Regions from separate parts of the Homo sapiens genome. Here all the other regions are linked to region 4. Evidence: promoter capture Hi-C in human tissues and cell types (Jung and others, 2019). All regions are on one chromosome and are shown on one strand. The core of a region is centred on a gene start or on the middle of the fragment in contact, and the rest is flanking DNA. Distances in the headings are between cores, read along the strand shown. Region 1 overlaps DIAPH3 (diaphanous related formin 3). Region 2 overlaps DIAPH3 (diaphanous related formin 3). Region 3 has its middle 350 kb from the start of DIAPH3-AS1. Region 4 holds the start of TDRD3 (tudor domain containing 3). Region 5 overlaps DIAPH3 (diaphanous related formin 3). Region 6 overlaps DIAPH3 (diaphanous related formin 3).

What was found. The method cuts DNA at HindIII sites, captures the fragments that hold promoters and counts their contacts. A contact is called where the count stands out against the background at its distance.
Region 1: a fragment that was not itself captured here is called in contact with the fragment with the promoter of TDRD3 in region 4 in 1 of the 25 tissues and cell types used here (lymphoblastoid cells).
Region 2: a contact is called between a fragment that was not itself captured here and the fragment with the promoter of TDRD3 in region 4, in 1 of the 25 tissues and cell types used here (lymphoblastoid cells).
Region 3: a fragment that was not itself captured here is called in contact with the fragment with the promoter of TDRD3 in region 4 in 2 of the 25 tissues and cell types used here (H1 embryonic stem cells and mesendoderm cells).
Region 5: a fragment that was not itself captured here is called in contact with the fragment with the promoter of TDRD3 in region 4 in 1 of the 25 tissues and cell types used here (lymphoblastoid cells).
Region 6: a fragment that was not itself captured here is called in contact with the fragment with the promoter of TDRD3 in region 4 in 3 of the 25 tissues and cell types used here (dorsolateral prefrontal cortex, lymphoblastoid cells and mesendoderm cells).

Annotation. Positions count from the first base shown.
Region 1 is chr13:59,776,731-59,779,430 of GRCh38, forward strand. All of the region lies in intron 25 of DIAPH3 (diaphanous related formin 3), which reads right to left. Among named protein-coding and RNA genes, the nearest start is that of DIAPH3-AS1, 230 kb to the right of the region's middle. The HindIII fragment of the contact is 9,017 bases long and covers 1-2,700 here.
Region 2 is chr13:59,807,716-59,810,559 of GRCh38, forward strand. All of the region lies in intron 25 of DIAPH3 (diaphanous related formin 3), which reads right to left. Among named protein-coding and RNA genes, the nearest start is that of DIAPH3-AS1, 200 kb to the right of the region's middle. The HindIII fragment of the contact is 5,884 bases long and covers 1-2,844 here.
Region 3 is chr13:59,662,516-59,665,215 of GRCh38, forward strand. No RefSeq gene overlaps it. Among named protein-coding and RNA genes, the nearest start is that of DIAPH3-AS1, 350 kb to the right of the region's middle. The HindIII fragment of the contact is 6,973 bases long and covers 1-2,700 here.
Region 4 is chr13:60,395,796-60,398,495 of GRCh38, forward strand. TDRD3 (tudor domain containing 3) reads left to right here and starts at 1,425. Exons shown (of 14, transcript NM_001146070.2): 1 at 1,425-1,610. The coding sequence starts at 1,570. RefSeq lists enhancers at 347-416, 747-1,076, 785-1,297, 1,147-1,346, 2,227-2,276 and a silencer at 1,487-2,056. The HindIII fragment of the contact is 4,558 bases long and covers 1-2,190 here.
Region 5 is chr13:59,686,777-59,689,533 of GRCh38, forward strand. The region is part of intron 27 of DIAPH3 (diaphanous related formin 3); the gene reads right to left. Among named protein-coding and RNA genes, the nearest start is that of DIAPH3-AS1, 320 kb to the right of the region's middle. The HindIII fragment of the contact is 4,477 bases long and covers 1-2,757 here.
Region 6 is chr13:59,722,416-59,725,115 of GRCh38, forward strand. The region is part of intron 27 of DIAPH3 (diaphanous related formin 3); the gene reads right to left. Among named protein-coding and RNA genes, the nearest start is that of DIAPH3-AS1, 290 kb to the right of the region's middle. The HindIII fragment of the contact is 4,835 bases long and covers 1-2,700 here.

The sequences.
Region 1 (2,700 bases), core at 168-2,667, 620 kb before region 4:
TTATTGTTGGTAGTGGTATTGATGTAGTGATTCTCAGACTATTGTGTGTGTATAAAAGCTGGAGCAGATGTGTAAATGTGCCGATGTGCTCACTGTGGGAAAGAAAATGGAAATATGGAATTGGAGAAAAAGAAAAAGAACCAAGAAGGGTTGGATTGGATGTATAGGTATTAATGTAAGCTCAAGGCTTAACAAAACAAAACAAACAAACAAACAAACAAAAAAACCCTTTTCCTATAACACTATAGTAGCATCAATGAGCATTTGGATCTTGGTTTCTAGCTACCGTTACTAGTCCTAAAATCTTCGTTTCTAATGACCTCTCTCGCCCTCAGATCTTGGTTTCTACATACCATTACTCCCTAAAAGGAATGACAATGCTTACAGAAATGGCTGATTCTAGAACTGAGGCCAAGAAAGTGTGAAATGAGTCAGAAACATATTGTTGTGCCAGAAAATAAGAAAGTGCTCAAAAATAGATAGTGATATGTTGAAAAGACAAAGAAGCCAGATTGAAACATTGCCTTGGCCAAATTTAGGACAACTGAGTATCAAATAAATAATCATGGGAATGGGATTATTGCACACTGAGGAAAAAAGAATCATGCATCCATAGTGATACTAAAAAATACATAGTAATAAAAATGTAGGAAGGAGAGTTCCTCTTTAAAGAACAGTGTCAACTAATAGATGTCAAAGATATGAGGGAACTACAAAATTCACCACATTACAATTCACATAGTAAGAAATGATTCAGGCAGGAGTCATCAACGGTTGCAAAAACTATTGTGCATAAGGGATGTAGAGGAACAGGATATAGAGAAATCTGGTAGATACCACCTTATCCAAATAATCAAATTTGACATTACCAACAATGTGGAATATGCTGATATCAATTGCCTCCTGAAGTGATGCACAACTTAACCTGTGTAGCACTTCGCACAAAAATATTTAACTTGAATCTGAATGCAAGGCAACAATCATAGAAGTCCAAAGTAAGGGACATTCTGTGACACAACTGGCCTAGGATCTAAAAATGTATCAATATCATGAAAGATAAAGAGAGGAAGAAATAGAGAAAGAGAGAAGAAAAGGCTAGAGAACTGTTCTAGATTAAAAGAGACTAAAGAGGAACGACAATGAAGTATAGAGGAGTCCCTGATTAACCCCTGAATTGAAAGAAGTTATATATGACGTTATTGGGATAACTGGAGAAATTTGAATATGGACTGGGTATCAGATAATTACATTGTACCAATGTTAAGTTATCAGAGTGTGATAACTGTATTATGGTTCACTAGAATAATCTCATTGTTCTTAGGCAATAAATGCTGACAGTTTTAGGCTCACAAAACAACTTACACAGTCTCATGTTTATTACTTCATGCCTTTGAACATGCTATTATATCTACACAGAACATCTGTCTCACTTTCTTCACCAAGCTAGCTCTTACCCTTCCTTCAAAACGGAGAACTGAGAATCCTTTCCTGACCCATGTGGCATAAACTAGGTGCCCCTCTGTGTCCCAGTGGTCTGTAATACATATACCAATAAATTCTTTACAATGTTATATTGTTTATGTGACTCTTTCTACCACTAAACCACGAGCCCACTGAGGGCAGGGATTATAGATTTCATTTATCTTCAACACCTGGCAAAATGCGACTATTATATAGAGAGTGTTCAATAAATATATGCTGGCTAAATTAGCTAAATATATGTTGACTAAATTAGCTAAATATATGTTGACTAAATTAGCTAAGATGGTCAGCTGGAAGGGTTGATTATGCATGAGAATAAAGCTCATAGATGGACAGGGGTCCAGGGAAGAGATGGGAATACATTCCCGCCACCATTCTAAACAACACAGCTTTCTTTCTTCCTTTTCCCTTGTCTCATACATCTATTTAGTTGTCAAATACTATAGACTGAAACTCCCCATTATCTCCTGAACTAATCTGCTGTTCCTTTTCTAACTACACTTTATGTTGGTATTACAGAACTGAATTATTTTTTATCTGGAATACTGCATGAGTTGCCTAGTCACATTGCTTCCAGTTTCTCCCTAATTCTGCCCATGCATTACTGATAAGTAAGTCCTACAGCAGAAATGATCTTCAGTTCCCCCGGTCACAAAGTTTCAATATATCTCAGTTCTTACAATATAAAGTTCCAACTCTTTTTTTCATTTTTATTTTTAATTTTCTTTTTTTTGCTCAAATGGATTTTGACAGATAAAGTCCAAACTCTTATTCCTACCCCAACAATGATTTCAATTGTATTTCCAATTGTATCTCTTACTTCCAACCATCCCAACCTGTTCTTTAGCTAAAGGCAACTGCCTGTGATTCTCTACAAACATTCTTTCTCTCGTCCATCACTGTCCACCTGGAACCTCTACCCCTGCTCTCATCCTCCAGAGCAGATGGCTATTTTTGGCCTTCACTCTCACATGCATAATGGGAAGAATACAATAATGAAGTAAAACAACTTGCATTCTAGTCTGAGCTTTCAACTAACTACCTGTGAGACACTAGACTATTATATACATAATCATTCCTGACATATGCAATACAGACAATACCTGTCTAGGGTTAATGAGGGAATCAAATGAGATAATACAAATGAAAGCACTTGATAAATTGCTAAGTGATATACAAATATAGGGAAAGAAATTCACAGATAAAATCCATGGTAAA
Region 2 (2,844 bases), core at 327-2,826, 590 kb before region 4:
TGTTTAGGAAGAGATAGTACAGAAAAAGTCTAATAAAATAATCCAATAGGTCAAATAAGATGAGCTCTATGATTAACGAAAGATATAATAAAACGTTTCTTTAAATCTATTGTTAAAATTAAAAACATTCAAGCTTTTTTTAAAATTAAGAAAAGAAGGTAATGTCATCAACATAAAATTACCTATTTTAAAGAAACATAAACCAGCTATTAAACACAATTGATGGCTAAATATTAGAATGCTTTTGGTAAAATTTAGAAACAGATCCTTTTATATTAAAACCTATATATCAAATATATGATTAAGGGAAGATTATAAATAAGTAGAGTACAGTCATATTATAAATAATCAAAACTAGAAAAGAAATGAAGTTGATATGAAATCAGTGAAAGGATGATTTTCTAAACTTAAAGGTGACAGAAAAAAATCACAAAGGCAAATATTAAAACATCATAGAATGAAAATAAAAGTTTTATATATATCAAGATATAGAAATAAAAAAGCCACATTAGAAGGAGGTATTTAAAATGTAAATATGAATACATACTGAGCTAACTTGTACAAATCAATAAGAAAAAGATAACAATTCACAACAGAGGAACTAAAAATGAACTTATAAACGCTTTTTAAAAGTCCAACTTTAGTAATACTCAAAGAAATGCAAATTAAGATAATAAAACATAATTTTAAAATCTATAAAATTAGCAAAAATCTTAAAAAATAAGAATATTCAACCAAGGCACAATCATAACCCAATGTTGAAAGTTGAGAAAATTAAAGTTATGCTTCTGAAAATCAGTTTGTAAGTATGCATCAAAAGTCTTAAAAATATCCTTTTCTATTCCATGTCCAATAAAATAATTACAAACATTTTCTATTTATGGACAAAAAGATTAATCACATTGAAAAGTCAGCAATAACTATTGTTCCATGACTTCATTACTGACTAATGCAAGTTAAATTGTATATGGCACAACCAGTGGAATCAATCATATATATATTAAAAATTATAAGAATTACAAGCTATGAATAACATGAAACATTCAAAAGTTCAGCAACATAAAGTGAGACACTGAATTGCATATTTACTAGGATCATAGCTACTATTAGAAGGCAGAAAAATTTAAAACTGAAAGAACAGTGTGCAGAAATGTTTACAGTGATTTTTTGGATAGGAAGATTATGGGTAACAGCCTTTTGATCTACTATTTTTTAGGTGTTTTCGATAATGTAAATAAATTTGAGAAATAAACTTATTCTTAAAAGTGAAAGCTTCCTTAGGGAGACATAAATTTAAATTAAAACATCACTGACATTACATTGGAAGTTTTATTAGAATTTCTTTGCCCTATCAAGTTTCAATCTTTCAAATTGGTATAAGAGAGAATTACTGAGACACTCTGTGTGATCAGACCCTGGGCAAAACCCACAAACAATACATCCAATCTGCCATCTAGCAACTCATCTAGATAACTATAGACAACGCTAAAAGAGCTAATGTTCAGGCTGGGAGCAGTGGCTCACGCCTGTAATCCCAGCACTTTGGGAGGCTGAGGTGGGTGGGTCACCTGAGGTCAGGAGTTAAAGACCAGCCTGGCCAACACGGCGAAACTCGGTCTCTACTAAAAATACAAAATTAGCCGGGCATGGTGGCGGGCCCCTGTAATCCCAGCCACTCGGGAGGCTTGAGGCAGGAGAATCCCTCGAACCCAGGAGGCAGAAGTTGCAGTGAGCCGAGATCGCGCCATTGCACTCCAGCCTGGGCAAGAAGAGCGAAACTCCATCTCAAAAAAAAAAAAAAAAGCTAATGTTCAAACACCAGAATCTTCTGTAAATTAGGAAGTAATATATTAATTTAAAATTCTTTCCAGAAGCATATTTTAAAAATAAATACTAAATCTTTCTGATCTCCATTTTTATTCATACTTAAAAATAATTCTGAGAATATTCCCTGAATTTCAAATATAAACAAGAAATTGTGCTTAGATGATTTTTCTTCCCAGGAAGAAACAAGTGCAATACATTAAGGTACTCGTTTCGCTTTAGTAAGCATAAAAATATACCTGTAAAGTGAAAGTAAAGAAGGCAAAGTAGGCATCTCTGTCTATTCCTGGGGAAACCTTAGGTGAATTTGCAACCCTGAATTGTAAACTATGGTGATTTAGCAGTGAAGCGGATGGATTTTAATTAAAGCCTTGTTCAATCCTTACTGACTTGGAAGTAGAAAAGCCAAATTTTTCAGGGAATGAAAATATAACTATATTTTACATAATTCTTTTGCTTCTAAATAAGTGGTATCTTTTAGCTTCTTGAAATACATATATACATATGTTTCTGTAAAATTTCAGTACCAGTCTCTAAAAGATACTTTGAAACATATTGACAACAATTTTGTCATGTTTACAAGAAAAAAAAAAGTATCCAAAATGTTCAGACTGCTTTTTTCTTTTTGTTGTTTTTTTGAAACAAAATCTCACTCTGTCTCCCAGGCTGGAGTGCAGTGTCAAGATCAAGGCATACTGCAGCCTCAACCTTCCAGGCTCAGGCGATCCTCCCACCTCAACCTCCCGAGTAGCTGGGACCACAGATTGGAATACACATAAATTCCATACATTACAATTGGCTGATATGTCGCTTAAGTCTCTTTCTTTTAAACAATGTTTATCCTCCATCACTTTTTTTCCCTCCCTTGGGATATTTTGTTGAAGAAACCGGGTTACATGTCCTATAGAATTTTCCACAGTCCATTTCTGACAGTTACTTTATTAACTGACATACATTATTAAAGATTGATTATTGAGGTAGTAATTAAAGAAACGTGAATACGCTGGAACGAAAACAGCA
Region 3 (2,700 bases), core at 107-2,606, 730 kb before region 4:
AATTCACCAGACAAAAATGATTACCAGGTCACTGCCAGCTACAATTCTTACATTTCAACATTTTAAATAATTTATATGAAAGGCAAAGAAAATAAATGTCACTTTTTTGGTTTTCAATCAAACTAGCAGTTCACATATTAGGACCTATTACTTTCCAAAAGTCACACAGTCCCTACAAAAGTTTGCCACACAACTTATCACCAAAAGTATTTCCAGTCTACATGTGTTTACATATCAAAGAAAGCTTAATTAATCAGAGGAAATCTAGCACAAATGTATGTTATAGCCTAAATAATTTAGTTTCTAGCTAAATGAAGATCTACTTCAGATTATGATATTTTAAAATAAAAATGAATCACCCAAGAAATAATCACTTTTGGGTAAACTATCATTTTAATGTCATTAATCGTTCCTGTTTTTGAGTAAATAGTATATTAACAACTAAAAGAGTTTCGGAGCAACTTGTTGTAAATTGTGTTTTTTAGATTTACCAGAAAATTTTGATATGAATTATTGAAATACCCACTTCCGCATATAAAAACTAGGTGTCTTTGATATATTGTTTAAATATGCAAATATGTTAACAATAAAGGAGATACAAGCTCATGTAATGAGATTACTTCCATTATTTTTAAGTTACTTTAAATATTTGTTGGGGAAAACTTGTTAGCAGTGGATCATTGCTCTAGGACAACTCAATGACCACCCAATTGTCTGTGTGTTCCAGCCAAATTCTCTACACTAACATGAGAAAGGGCACAATGATCTTTCTGGGATCAGGGGTGTATTAGTCTGTTCTCACTCTGCTAATAAAGATATAACCAAGACTGGGTAATTTATAAAGGAAAGAGGTTTAATGGACTCACAGTTCCACATGGCCTCACAATCATGGCAGAAGAGCAAGGGATGTCTTACATGGTGGCAGGCAAGAGAGAGCTTGTGCAGGGGAACTCCCCTTTATAAACCATCAGATCTCATGAGACTTATTCACTATCATGAGAACAGCACAAGAAAGACCTCCCACCAGGTCCCTCCCATGACACATGGGAATTATGGGAGCTACAATTCAAGATGAGATTTGGATGGGGACACTGCCAAACCATATCATGGGGTTTGTCACTGGCCTGGATGGAACATCCTTGTCAAGATGCACACACACACACACACACACACACACACACTTAGAGAGACAGACAAAAGAAAGAGAGAGAGGGAGAGTGCACGGTTTATAATGAGGGATTGGACCAGGTGATTTTTTGGAAGCTGAGAAGTCCCACCATCTGCCATCTGCCAGCTGAAGGTGTAATTCCAGTCCAACCTCAAAGGCCTGAGAAGCAGAAAAGCCCGTGATGTAAATCCTAGTCTGAGTTCAAAGGTCCACGAACCGGGAAGGCCGATGAGAAAGGGCAGGAGAGGACGATGTCGCAACTGAAGTAGAGTGTGCAGATTTACACTTTCTCCACTTTCTGTTCTATTCTGGCCCTCAGGAGACTGGATGATGCCCACCTACAGTGGGAGGGCTATCTTCCTTATTCAGTCTATGTATGCAAATGCAAATCTCTTCCAGAAACACCCTCACAGGCACAATAAGAAATAAAACCGTACCGCTTGTCTGGGGCATCCTTTAGCCCAGTCAAGTTGACACATAAAATTAATCATCTGCCGGGCACGGTGGCTCATGCCTGTAATCCCAGCACTTTGGGAGGCCTAGGCGGGCGGATCACGAGGTCAGGAGATCGAGACCATTCTGGCTAACACAGTGAAACCCCGTCTCTACTAAAAATTAGCCAGACGTGGTGGTGGGCGCCTATAGTCCTAGCTACTCGGGAGGCTGAGGCAGGAGAGTGGTGTGAACCTGGGAGGCAGAGCTTGCAGAGAGCAGAGATCGCACCAGTGCACTCCAGCCTGGGCGACAGACTCTGTCTCAAAAAAAAAAAAAAAATTAATCATTATACTGGCTCATTCAAATGAACAAACTGCTTATTCAAAAAAATAAAATTGTACCTCAACTCCTGCCCTCAAATTAAAGGTCAATGCTATGGTTTGGCTAAGGAAATATCATGCATTTTAAAACCCTAATCATACCTCTAGCCCATTGCTGAAAGGGCATCTACCAATAAAAGTATCTCCAAATGATCGTTCCTTGAGTTGGTACTCACCTTTATCAGACATTTAGAGGTTTCCTTTCCACAGCTATGGTCCTTTTTGGAGCCAGCTGCTGTCATCAAGGGAGAGAGAGTGCTGGCTGCTGACCTGTGGGTGGCCAGACGCTTCTGATACTCTGCTAGCCTTGGGCTCCTGGCCCTCTTGCTTGAAAGTTGTCCTCAGCCCCTGCAGACAGACGCTCTGGGGCTTGACTGCTCCATTTCTGGACTTCCTTGCCTTCCTCTGCCCCTCGGAGTCTCCGTCATCTTCACTTTCCTTTATTTGCCGGGCTTCTTCTCCCCCGTGGCTGCTCCCCGGTCCCAAGTTTCCAGAGTTTTTACCTGCTTCCTGGTGTGCCCAAACTATCTAGTTGAATTTAAGTTTTGTTTCTGAAAAACCCAAGTCTGCAAAATCACATTAAGAACTGATAGTGAGAGTTCTTTCATTTAAATTCTTTCCTAAACAAAACAATCCTGCCTTGTTGTTAGGGGTGCCGTCAGCTTAAATATGTAAATGTCCTTCACCTTTCTTGATTTTTAAGGTTTGTTTTCAGAA
Region 4 (2,700 bases), core at 175-2,674:
ATGGCCGATGACTATAAATTGAAATATACCTGTAGCATACGTATGACTTAAACACTGCATACTACTGCACATTGCAGCGAACAGGATGGAGCTACTTGTGATCTAAAATTATCTAAACAATATACTTGGGAGCAAATCTCAATAGCATTCCATCTAACGAAAGCATCGCGATTTTATAACTATGACTTTTGGGAAGACCAAACGGAATACCCCAGCTGAAATGAGAAAAATCTGTATTAAGGAATTTTAGCTCCACCCAGGGCAATTATCCCCTTCCTTCCGTAACTGCCAATTTCCTCCCCAATCCCAAGAGCGCCTCTGCCCAGTTCCGCAGTCTCTGCTCCAAGTCTGTTTTTGATGATGCCCTTAGAAGCAGGGGCAGCGGCAAGCGGCGGAGATAGGGATTAAGTTCCTAACAGTCTTCTTCCCCTGACCTGGCAGATGGGGACGCTGCCCCTTAGAAGCCTTTTTCCCCGCAATACGGGACGCCGCAGAGGTGAAAGACCAAGAAGGTGGAGCAAACTTTTAGGGAGCGCCTCTTGGGCCCGCGTACCCTTCCGCCTGTTCCTCTCTGATTGGCCAGCGTGAGTCACGGACGCCCAATCGCGCGGTAGCGTCCGCCGTGCCGCTGGGCGACGGCGGCGCGCATGCCCACTCAGGGACCCACCCTGCGCCCCAGCCCTCTACAGCGCGGGCGAAGGGCATCGGCGGGGAAGCGGCTGTGGTTGCCAGATCTGGCAGTACAGAGCCAAGGTGGCAGGGCCGCGCTAGGACACGGATGGTCCCAGGGGGAGGGCAACAGGAAAAACAAGCACTGACACAACTGCCCCATTTCCCCATGTCCCCTAAAAGCAGGTTTTCTTGGGCTGACCAGGGCATTTTCACTGTGGTGTCCGACTGGGGCAACTCGATCTGCCCGCGGGGACTCAAAAAAGCTTGAGCTGCATTTTTTCTTTGCGTCCGGGCGGACCAAAAGGCGAGGTGAAGGGAACGAGTGTTTATAAGAAAGTAAACTTTTGTGCAGAATGGGCTGGGGACACCTCTGAGTTTTGCTGCCCGCAACGTGACCTTTTTAGCGCGGTCCTGGACGCGTTCCCTCGCAGCCAACCCGTCAGTCTCCTCAGGCCTTATCCTGCCCTCTCTGAGGTGGCCGCCTGTGGGCGCTGCAAACGCCACACTTTTGCTCTACGAAGAACCTCCTCGCGACTTTCCAAGGTGTGCAACTCAGAAAAGCGCCCCCCAAAACAAGTAAAAGCCTTCGGGGAAGAGGCAAAGTCCCTGAACCGTCCTGACTCCAGCCACCAGCCGGTGTTTGGTGGATCAGGTCCCGGAGCTCCGCAGCCTGGGAGCCCCACACCAGGCCGGCCCCTACGGCCGCTCAGAAAACGCGGCGAGCGGAACCCGCACGCGGAAGCGCCGGCCGCACTGAGCATGCCCAGTTGCAGAGCCGACCAGAGGAGTTTTTTCTTTTCTTTTCTTTTTTTTTTTTTAAGGGGGGGGGTCTCAAGTAGGAGGCCTCCCCATCACCCCCACCCCAGCCCCCCACCACCCCCGGCCTAAGCAGCTACCATGGCCCAGGTGGCCGGCGCGGCGTTGTCCCAGGCGGGTTGGTAAGTGGCGAGTCCCGCCGGCTGCCGGGCCGCGGGTGCGGGCCGGGGCCCCAGGGAGGTTGGGTTGGGGGCGGCGGGGTGCGTGTCGGGGTAGGCGGAGGCTGTCGTCCGCCCCCGGCCTCTCCCCGGGCCCTTCGGGCCGGCTCCGCCCCCGGCGCCACGCGGAGCCCTGCGAGTTCCCCTAGGTCCCCTGGAGGCGGCGGCGGCGGCGGCCTGGGCCCCGGGCGGCGGGCCTGGGCCCCGGGCGGCGGGCGGCGGGCCTGGGGAGAGGCCGGGGGCCGCGAGCCGGGCGGGTGGCGGCCCAGACCCCGGCCGACCGGAGCGCCGGGGAGGACCTGCAGCGCCGTCCGCGCGGCTTCTCCGGGGAGGGGGTGTTTCTGCAGCGGGATCGGGAGGCGAGGGCTGGGAACGAAGTGCGGCGGAGAGGGACGAACGCGGCCGGAGCCCGCGGGCCCATAGGAAGTTGAGGGCAGAGCAGAGCACAGCCCGCGCTGCGGCCGGAGCCGCCTCTTCTTACCCCTTATTTCAAAGTACAGTGTGGACCAGTGTGAATCTGCCTTCCGCGGCACACACACAACTTCTGGAGCTAAGAATGACCGCAATGTCAACTCGTGGGGGTGCTCGGTAGAACTTTTCTTGAAAGGATGGTGTTCTGATTTTAAGAGGCCTTTCGTGTCAAGATTTTCAGGATTTGAAAACAATACAAAATTATGCGAAATTAGGCAGTTTCTGGAATTGCGGCCATTACGGTTGTAATCATCCCGTTTAATTCAGTAACGCTTTTCCCAGGCTTGCACAGGCACATTCTGGGATGAAGGGTAGGAACGGGGATGAAAAAGATTTGCAACGGCTCTCTGCAATTACTGCTTTAGGAGAAAGAGTGAGGCATTAAAAGACCAAACAAAACCAGGGGGAATAGTGATAAACCGTACGTACAGAGGAACAGATGAGTGCACTGTGGAATGGGAGGGAGAGTTACTTTCCTAAAGTGGACTTGGAAAGATGGTAAGGAAAAGGCTTTCTAGCACAGAGCTGCTGGAGATGACACAGGGAAGCGCTTATTGTTTTGCAGAACCTACACAAGATCTAT
Region 5 (2,757 bases), core at 29-2,528, 710 kb before region 4:
CAGACCCTATCATCACACATCCTCAGGCAAAACCATGTGCACCAAAGCATTACAGAAATAGCCTTCTGAAGTAGAATAGAGCACTAGGACAACAATGAAAAACATTGCAAACACCAGAAGCTTTCATGGTCTTTGACAAGTCATGGTATATAAAACAGTAACGACTTCAGAGCCATGGAGGTGCTAGGGGTTCATGTAAAAGCACCAACCATTTCTCTTTGTCTGCTCTTAGTTGAGCTTCCCTGTAAAGACTGAGTCTAGACCAAGAGGCAATATTAAAAACAAAAGGTTAGAGATCATCATGGGACATTAATTATGCAAAAGAAGGCAAAATGAATTTAATCAGAAGCAGCAGACTCAGTGCAGGAAGAATTTTCTCTTTTTGACAGAAGCAGTTAGGAAAACATTTATGGTAATACCACAGCATCTGCTGATTACAGTCAAAGCTGCAGGACACCAGCGTTAAATCACTGAGCCATCCTGACAGTTCCTGGGTACTCCAGTCACATCCAACAGCAATTTACAATGAAATTCATCCAAGTCTAAAAATCAGCCAACATGCCTCAACCAGAGCAAAATAACTTAGTTTGGACTTTTAAAAACAATTATAAGAGGGAATTATAGCTGATAAAACTTTTGATGGAGTATAAGTATTTGTCTCCAACAAATACAGTTTTAAAGAAAACACACCCATTTTTAGATCTATTAATATGCTTTGTGATCAGTCATATTTTGGAATTTATAGGAAGAAAGGATTTTATGAGGCTAAGAATACAGGAAGTAGAGTTTTAACCCTTTTGATAAGACGTCAGGACAAAATCTGACATCTCCTCTTAGTGTCTTGAAATGATATATTGAAAAAACTCAGAGAATGTTAGGATAAATTTTAAACAATTATAACTTGGTTGCTAAGCAAATATGGATAAAATAAAAAGTTCAGAGAGACAATGAACCACAATGTAGTGTAACATAAGGATGATTATTCGATGAACTGCCCATAGAAGTACAGGCAGGACAACCACATGCCATTATTACCCACTGGGAATTGCTGAGATGGTAATTAAAATAATGAAATCCTATAGATATTAACAACTAAAACTTTAATACTTAGGTGTTTCAGAGGGCTTTCTTGTGGTCAAAAACATATTGGTGTCTAAATTTAAATCTTTGAATGACACAAGAACCCAGAGAACAAAAGATTGTATTGAAGCCTTCAGAGATTAGCATTCACAAAAGTAAATGTCTCATATTTTATCCAAAATCAATACCAAAGATTTTCTTCCCCCAGTTGCTTTGGGAGTTCAGCTAAATATTATTCATAACATGAGAGATTAAAAGAAGAAGGAAACAAAAACTTTAAAATGGCTATTTTTGAAGGAAGCCATAGAAATTGTGGTCATAAGGGATGGCTCTATTGTTGTCTTTTTCTCAGCTTGATAAATTGTTTCAAAGTATGTTGGCCAAGCTAATCACTAGCACAATATTCACCTGCAATTTTAAAATCTGAATTTCTTTATTCTTTCCCCAAACATATTAAAAATGTCTCTAGACTTCTATTTATAGATATGACCTATTGATGGTAAAAGTGCACCTGAATAATCAAAACCACTGACAAAAAAATAATAACTGAAAAGGTCAAAAAGTGGATCAATTGAACATTTCAACCTCACAAGTAAGTCCAAACATAAATGAATAATGAATCCATAAATGTTTATTGAGCACCTATATGCATAAGACACAGAGCTAGGAACCACCAAGAAGTTTAAGGTACTGTCATTGGTCTGAAAGGGACCAGGGACAAAAGAGGAGCTTATGTTGACTCATTTTTAGTGTCACTCAAGTGTCAAATGAATTGTGCACATAATAAATACAATAGAATTTTGGTGGAGTGAGGTCCACCTAGAGATAGTTTAAGTGAAATCATGCTTCATAAGGGCAGGGTCTCATTTCAGTTTTGAGTAACAATAGGATTAGATACATCAGAAACAACTTGCAGGGAACTTTACGTAAAGGAAAAATCTATTAAAAATGCTACCAAGTACCCATTTAGTGGATGGTTAGGATTCAAGACAGGCCACACTCATGCAGATGAATATATGAAGACAATGAAAAAAACTCACATAACATGGGTTAACTAATACTAACATTTTAGTATCAAATTATGTTGGAAATTTCACATAGAAGATGTTTATGTAATAGAGTTTCACCAAAAAGCAATCAACTACGTAGACTGGGTTTCATCTTTATTATGTACTAGTCAATCCCCAGGCACAGAAAGAAAGCAATGATTGAGGGAGAGATAATTGTGAATCTCTTGTTATAGAAAGTTAAAGATTGCAAGAATTTAGCACCTTCTTTCTTCTGCTGCAAGAAAGTCTCCTGAAAGGCCACAAGATTTCTGAGGAAGCTTAAATACAGGGGAGAAAGTAAAGAAGGCCTGGACTACCTGGGGAGAGAGGCATTCTAATCAGTCAGAGAGAAGAATTTGAGCCTCAAGTATTCTGTTAGGAGTACGGCGGCCTCCTGCTGTCCACACCCTGTCTCCTTCTTCACCCACACAAGAGGAAGGAAGGAATGAGCTGGGAAAATGGGAAGTGCAGGTGGTATGATAAAACCGATGAAGGATTGAAAATGGATTGCACTAAAATAAAAAACAAACAGAGTCGTCATCAGCAAACAGATGGCTCCTAATAGAGAATAAAATTTGATTAGACAGTTTCCCAAGTATATATCTGGTGCACCAGAATCAAGGAGAAA
Region 6 (2,700 bases), core at 136-2,635, 670 kb before region 4:
GAAGCTAAAAACCACATCAGAGACCCCATGCAGTTTGGATGTGATTTGGTTTGGCCAATCTTCAAATTGCTCACGGTTAGGATGTTGGAAGTAAGGTGGAGGCCACGTTTTTGTGGGGTTTCTTGCAAGTGTGACTGTGGAAGCATTTGGTTTTCTCTCATAGCACCAGCAACCATCCTTGTATCTAGTCACTAGCTGTGTAGTACTAAAAGGCAGAAAGATAGCTCTCTGTTATGCTGGTGTGGATTGTAACAGGCACTGCAAGGTTCTGTGTCTGGCAGTAACAGTGGTGGCTTCCTGATCATGGGGACTTCCTGTTAGGGAGTGGCAGTGAGGTTCTGGAGCCAGCAGCTTCCCAATTCAGCAGGCAGTTTCTGTATCATAGAGCGGGGAGCAAATGCCATGGTAGCCTGTGTTAGGGCTTCACATGTAGCTCATCAAAGCTTGATCTAAATTGTTTCTTCAGTCCTCCTAATGACCCCGAATCCACTTACAATGTCATGATTAAATACTTCACTGCTTAAACTGGATTCTAGTCTCTGAGCCAGAACCCTGACCTATACAGCATGCCAGCACATACATACCCCTTCCAAGAAATGGATTTCCTATTTGGTAGTGATGAGGAAGAGGTTCTAAAACTCTATAGGAAAAATAACTCTTCAGAATAATGTTCAGGGACTAATGGGTGTGAACTCTTTCCCCCACTCTGAATGCAGATGTGTTCTTGGTGACACTGAGATATATTCCAGGACCAGGAGAGCTCAATGTTTAAAATATTCACTTGAGCCAAGGTGTCCAGATTGTTAGTGTACTTCTAGAATGTAAACCCTAAGACAGTAGTACAGTAAGAACTAAGCTTCTTAGAGTCAGTGAGACCCTATTTTCCAGCAACAGTGTGTCCTGGTAGCTGCAGGTGCCCATTCATTTCTAGAGGCAATGGATTCTGAGACATGCTACATCTGCTCCTGCTACGCATCCATCCAACTTTCCATAAGATGTTATACCCCTGGCTAATTAAAGTGGAAACCTAATTTAACTATATATTGTGTGTGTGTGTGTATGTGTGTGCGTGTGTGGTCTTTCCCCACCAATCTATAGCTCACTTGAAGTATTCAAGTCTCCTGGTAAAAGTCTGTTTTGTCGTACACTGTCTAAAGATTCTTTGTTAAGTGACACTGATCGAAAATGATGGTCTTTTTTTTTTTTCCTTTTTGAGATGAAGTCTCACACTGTCACCTGGGCTGGTGTGCAGTGGCGCAATCTCGGCTCGCTGCAATCTCCGCCTCCTGGGTTCAAGCAATTCTCCTGCCTCTGCCTCCCAAGTAGCTGGGACTACAGGTGTGTGCCACCGCACCCAGCTAATTTTTTTTTGTATTTTTAGTAGAGATGGGGTTTCACTATGTTGGCCAGGCTGGTCTCGAACTCCTGACCTCGTGATCCGCCCGCCTCGGCCTCCCAAAGTGCTGGGATTACAGGCATGAGCCACCGCACCCAGCCAGAAAATGATAGTCTATCTATCTGTTCACCTCAATGTGTTAAAAGTTAAAAAAAAAAAAAAAAAAAAAGAATATGATTGGCTGTCACTATGGGCCCTCAGTTTTTGTGATAAAGGGATAGTTCTCTATTATACACTGTGAGGGGCTTTACCAGCAAGTATGGGTAGGGTTGCAAGACTTGGCAAAATAAAATAATATAAAAAATGAGTACATTTAGTGAAGTATGAATTTTAGATAAACAATGAACAACTTTTTAGTATATGTATACCCTACACAACATTTAGGACATATTTATATTAAGTATTCATTGTTTACTTGAAATTTAAATTTAACTGACATTTCTATGTTTTATTTGGCAACCCTAGTAGTAGAAAAAACTCGTGTGTGAACTATCACTGCAGAGTGATCTTATTCCAAACCAGCTTAGGAGCCTGAGACTGTCTAAAGAATTTAAGACACCTGTTTTCAGATAGAAAGAATGAGCTCAGTATGGGTAATCCACGGCCTTATAAATAATGGGGAATAAATGGTACACAAAACTCTTGGTTGGCCTTACTCTCGGTATTTCTTGGGTTTTATTTCCTTGAGCCTAAATTCAAGTATGAATTTGCCTAGAAGATGCAGCCCAAGTTTTGGCACTCTAAAAGCTCTATTTCCTCTTTTTCCCCTGGCTGTTAGGAAGCTCAAAAATAAATCACAGTATTAACTTTTCACTTCTTCATCCTTAAAAAGATAAGCTACCTTAAATCCTTTCAAAAGGGGATGGGCCATAAATTGCCGATTGCGTCAAATGAGCTGGCTTTCCTTTATGGTAGTCACAGATAGTGAAAGAAATCGTTGTGAAAATTACACATAATAGAAATCACCTTCCTAATTTTTACACCTTTGGGGAATAGAAAGTACTTTGTTTACTTTAATTCTTCTATAAGTTCAAAATTTGGCTATATGAGTTGAAAATAAGATAGCATCTTGCACTATTGTTGCTGTGAGGAATATATGCCCCAGAAAAGAAAAGCTATTCTAGAGTTTCAACTTTTATTTATCAAGGACTGTATTCTATAATACATAGAAGAGAGCTGTATCAAGCAATTTACTGTTTTTAGTTGTTAAAAGTGTTCTACTGCTAAAATCTGAGAAGTGAAAATGTGGCTAAATTTTGAAATGTAATATATGTCTGGGAAATACAATAATTTGCAGCATAGCT